2 separate regions of the Homo sapiens genome follow, and region 1 is linked to region 2. The links are contacts of gene promoters, found by promoter capture Hi-C in human tissues and cell types (Jung and others, 2019). All regions are on one chromosome and are shown on one strand. The core of a region is centred on a gene start or on the middle of the fragment in contact, and the rest is flanking DNA. Distances in the headings are between cores, read along the strand shown. Region 1 has its middle 77 kb from the start of GPAM. Region 2 holds the start of ADRA2A (adrenoceptor alpha 2A).

What was found. Contacts are between HindIII fragments. The study calls those that stand out against the background at their distance.
Region 1: a contact is called between a fragment that was not itself captured here and the fragment with the promoter of ADRA2A in region 2, in 1 of the 25 tissues and cell types used here (spleen).

What each region holds. Positions count from the first base shown.
Region 1 is chr10:112,104,918-112,107,617 of GRCh38, forward strand. No RefSeq gene overlaps it. Among named protein-coding and RNA genes, the nearest start is that of GPAM, 77 kb to the right of the region's middle. The HindIII fragment of the contact is 4,977 bases long and covers 1-2,700 here.
Region 2 is chr10:111,075,640-111,078,339 of GRCh38, forward strand. It overlaps ADRA2A (adrenoceptor alpha 2A), which reads left to right and starts at 1,390. Exons shown (of 1, transcript NM_000681.4): 1 at 1,390-2,700. The coding sequence starts at 2,358. RefSeq lists a silencer at 1,353-1,402. The HindIII fragment of the contact is 8,357 bases long and covers 1-2,700 here.

The DNA of each region.
Region 1 (2,700 bases), core at 130-2,629, 1.0 Mb after region 2:
AACGGAACAAAGCTGGACGGAGAATGACTTTGACGAGCTGAGAGAAGAAGGCTTCAGACGATCAAATTACTCCGAGCTACGGGAGGACATTCAAACCAAAGGCAAAGAAGTTGAAAACTTTGAAAAAAATTTAGAAGAATGTATAACTAGAATAACCAATACAGAGAAGTGCCTAAAGGAGCTGATGGAGCTGAAAACCAAGGCTCGAGAACGTCGTGAAAAATGCAGAAGCCTCAGGAGCCGATGCGATCAACTGGAAGAAAGGGTATCAGCGATGGAAGACGAAATGAATGAAATGAAGCGAGAAGGGAAGTTTAGAGAAAAAAGAATAAAAAGAAACGAACGAAGCCTCCAAGAAATATAGGACTAAGTGAAAAGACCAAATCTACGTCTGATTGGTGTACCTGAAAGTGACGGGGAGAATGGAACCAAGTTGGAAAACACTCTGCAGGATACTATCCAGGAGAACTTCCCCAATCTAGCAAGGCAGGCCAACATTCAGATTCAGGAAATACAGAGAACGCCACAAAGATACTCCTCGAGAAGAGCAACTCCAAGACACATAATTGTCAGATTCACCAAAGTTGAAATGAAGGAAAAAATGTTAAGGGCAGCCAGAGAGAAAGGTCGGGTTACCCTCAAAGGGTAGCCCATCAGACTAACAGCAGATCTCTCGGCAGAAACTCTACAAGCCGGAAGAGACTGGGGGCCAATATTAAACATTCTTAAAGAAAAGCATTTTCAACCCAGAATTTCATATCCAGCCAAACTAAGCTTCATAAGTGAAGGAGAAATAAAATACTTTACAGACAAGCAAATGCTGAGAGATTTTGTCACCACCAGGCCTGCCCTAAAAGAGCTCCTGAAGGAAGCGCTAAACACGGAAAGGAACAACCGGTACCAGCCGCTGCAACATCATGCCAAAATGTAAAGACCATCGAGACTAGGAAGAAACTGCATCAACTAACAAGCAAAATAACCAGCTAACATCATAATGACAGGATCAAATTCACATATAACATATTAACTTTAAATGTAATGGACTAAATGCTCCAGTTAAAAGACACAGACTGGCAAATTGGATAGCGTCAAGACCCATCAGTGTGCTGTATTCAGGAAACCCGTCTCACGTGCAGACACACATATAGGCTCAAAATAAAAGGATGGAGGAAGATCTACCAAGCAAATGGAAAACAAAAAAAGGCAGGGGTTGCAATCCTAGTCTCTGATAAAACAGACTTTAAACCAACAAAGATCAAAAGAGACAAAGAAGGCCATTGCATAATGGTAAAGGGATCAATTCAACAAGAAGAGCTAACTATCCTAAATATATATGCACCCAATACAGGAGCACTCAGATTCATAAAGCAAGTCCTGAGTGACCTACAAAGAGACTTAGACTCCCACACATTAATAATGGGAGACTTTAACACCCCACTGTCAACATTAGACAGATCAACGAGACAGAAAGTCAACAAGGATACCCAGGAATTGAACTCAGCTCTGCACCAAGCGGACCTAATAGACATCTACAGAACTCTCCACCCCAAATCAACAGAACATACATTTTTTTCAGCACCACACCACACCTATTCCAAAATTGACCACATACTTGGAAGTAAAGCTCTCCTCAGCAAATGTAAAAGAACAGAGATTATAACAAACTGTCTCTCAGACCACAGTGCAATCAAACTAGAACTCAGGATTAAGAATCTCACTCAAAATCGCTCAACTACATGGAAACTGAACAACCTGCTCCTGAATGACTACTGGGTACATAACGAAATGAAGGCAGAAATAAAGATGTTCTTTGAAACCAATGAGAACAAAGACACAACATACCAGAATCTCTGGGACACATTCAAAGCAGTGTGTAGAGGGAAATTTATAGCACTAAATGCCCACAAGAGAAAGCAGGAAAGATCCAAAATTGACACCCTAACATCACAATTAAAAGAACTAGAAAAGGAAGAGCAAACACATTCAAAAGCTAGCAGAAGGCAAGAAATAACTAAAATCAGAGCAGAACTGAAGGAAATAGAGACACAAAAAACCCTTCAAAAAATTAATGAATCCAGGAGCTGGTTTTTTGAAAGGATCAACAAAATTGATAGACCGCTAGCAAGACTAATAAAGAAAAAAAGAGAGAAGAATCAAATAGACGCAATAAAAAATGATAAAGGGGATATCACCACCGATCCCACAGAAATACAAACTACCATCAGAGAATACTACAAACACCTCTACGCAAATAAACTAGAAAATCTAGAAGAAATGGATAAATTCCCCAACACATACACCTTCCCAAGACTAAACCAGGAAGAAGTTGAATCTCTGAATAGACCAACAACAGGCTCTGAAATTGTGGCAATAAACAATAGCTTACCAACCAAAAAGAGTCCAGGACCAGATGGATTCACAGCCGAATTCTACCAGAGGTACAAGGAGGAGCTGGTACCATTCCTTCTGAAACTATTCCAATCAATAGAAAAACAGGAAATCCTCCCCAACTCATTTTATGAGGCCAGCATCATCCTGATACCAAAGCCTGGCAGAGACACAACCAAAAAAGAGAATTTTAGACCAATATCCTTGATGAACATTGATGCAAAAATCCTCAATAAAATACTGGCAAACCAAATCCAGCAACACATCAAAAAGCTTATCCACCATGATCAAGTGGGCTTCATCCCTGGGATG
Region 2 (2,700 bases), core at 140-2,639:
ACTGCTTGCTCTCATCTGAAAAGTGCAGCTAGCAGGGTGCAAGCTAGTGCTCTAGTGACCGTTAAAATCTATCCTAGGACAGCTAGCACGCACGGAAAAACTTGCCATTCGCCGCACACCCACTCCCCCCCGCCCCCACCGCTATTCTTATCAGAGAGAACATGGAAAATATTCTACTCCCTCTTCCCCTTATTGAAGGATGCTGTGTGTACATCTGAATGGGGGTGGGATGCGGGGCGGGAGTGGAGTCTAGCTTTCGGTCCTCAACAAAAACATAATGATTCCCAGCAAGCCAGAGCTGTGCAACCAAGGAGGCAGGATCCTGGCCTCTCTCGGATCTGCAGGAAGGGTGGGCTGTGCGGGTCCAGAGTGGGATGCCCGTTCTGGCCGGCGGTGCCTGCTGAGCCCTTCCTGATGTGACTTTATTAGACAAACCCCCACTCCCGCCAGGGGTAGACACACGAGTATCTGCTTTAGGAAGATTTCTGCAACACGGCAGGGTGCAATTCAAACTCTGGGTTCTCCTTTCCTGAGCTTAGAAACCAATTTGTTCGGAGATAGGAGAAGGCTCTGTTGGCAGAAGACCTAAGAGACGGGAGGAGGCGCCTGGCGTCAGCGGGTCGCTTCTCAGCCGTGACCACGAGCGGCCAGCAGGTGTCAGTGCGTCCTCGCTTTGCCCTGGCGCTCGGCTCCTGGACCCCTCCCCACCTCGGTCTAAGGGGGCGCGGTCCAGACCCCGGGTCTTGCGTTTCCCGCAGACAGCATCGCGGCTGGGAGGACACGTAGCCGCTTCTTCCCTAAGCGGAGGTCTGAACTCCGGCTTGTACCACTTCCCCGTGGGTGCTGTCCATTCCGCCCCAGGGGTTCCATCCGAAGCCGCGCCTTCCTCCCTCTCCAGGACCCCTTTCTCCCCAGCCTCCAGGAGCACCTGCGGACCGCGTCGGCTCTGGCCCGGAGCTGGGCTGCTCCAGACGTAACTCACACCGGAGGTTACTTCCCTCGATTTGGGCGGGGATTCCCTTCCATTTTTTTCTTCCCTTTTCTCCCAAGATCCAGCTTCTTGGGGGCACTCACGGGTGCCCGTTGCGTTCTGCTCCGTCGGCCCGGAGCTGCATGGCCAACTCCCAGCAGGGGCCGCTCCTCCCCTACCCCCCACCCCCGGGCTCCCTCTTTAAGTCTCTAGCTCAAGGTACCCGCCTCTCCAAAGGGCTCGTCCCGCCTGAGGGCAACGCTCCCCGAGGTCCAGCGCTAGGCGCGGGCGCTAGACTGGCGGAGGGGTGGTGCGAGGGGCGGGGGAGGGTCGGCTTCCCACGTGGGGGCTGACGCCGGCTGCTCAGCAACGCTTGCTTGATCCTGGGGCTATAAAACGAGTCCACCGTGAGCGCAGCGGAGCAGCAGCAGCTCCAGCTCGGTGCAGAAGCCCAGCAGCCGGCGTGCCGCCGCCCGGCCACTCCAGCGCCTTCTTCCCCGCCTTGCGCTCCTGCCCCAACTCGCGCTGTCGTCGGACCCCGGCCCATCCAGCAGCGCTCGGCGCCCACCAGGCGGACGCCCAGGAGAACCCCTGCCTCCGTCGCGGCTCCTGGAGAGCTGATCGTTCACCTGCCCCGGCCCGCCTGAGGACGGGGGTGCCTTCATGCGGCCCCCACACTCCTCACCCCGCCGCCGCCGCCGTCCCGGAGCTCCGCACAGTGTGCCCCAGCCCCAGCAGGGCGCACAACTTTGGAAGTCTCGCGGCGCTCCGAGAGGCGGCAGAGTCCGCGCCCCAGCCCCGGGCCGGGCCGGGCCAGAACCGCAGCGTCTGGGGGAAGCCAGAGAGTCGGTAATCGCTTCGGGGATGTAAGGCGACAGACATAGGACCCCCGAGCTCGCATCAGCACCCTTCGGCTGCCTCCCGGGGTGGGGGCGGGCCCCGCACACGGTAAGACCTCTTGCTTTCGCTCAGGCTCAAGATTCAAGATACAGATATTGATATGTATATATATATTTAATTTCCTGTCATCCTTCCAAGTTATCAGGCCACCGATGATTTTTGTTCTCCCTTCTTGAAGAATAAATCTCTCTTTACCCATCGGCTCTCCCTACTCTCTCCCGCCGCTTAGAAATAAAACTTGGCTGTATTAGGAGCTCGGAGCAAGAAGGCGCCCACCGAGAGCGTCTGAAGCGCGAGCCAGGCGCAGTTCGCGGGACCCGGGCCATGGGCCGCTAGCGGTCCTCCAGTTCGGGCCCGGCCTCCCTGCGGCCCCCTCCCTATGTGAGCCGCAGCCAGGCGAGCGGGGCGCCGGAGGAAGAGGAGGACCCACGGGCGCCGGGCCGGAAGGCAGCTGGCAGCAGGCCCAGGCCAGCGGGCGCCCGCGTTCATGTTCCGCCAGGAGCAGCCGTTGGCCGAGGGCAGCTTTGCGCCCATGGGCTCCCTGCAGCCGGACGCGGGCAACGCGAGCTGGAACGGGACCGAGGCGCCGGGGGGCGGCGCCCGGGCCACCCCTTACTCCCTGCAGGTGACGCTGACGCTGGTGTGCCTGGCCGGCCTGCTCATGCTGCTCACCGTGTTCGGCAACGTGCTCGTCATCATCGCCGTGTTCACGAGCCGCGCGCTCAAGGCGCCCCAAAACCTCTTCCTGGTGTCTCTGGCCTCGGCCGACATCCTGGTGGCCACGCTCGTCATCCCTTTCTCGCTGGCCAACGAGGTCATGGGCTACTGGT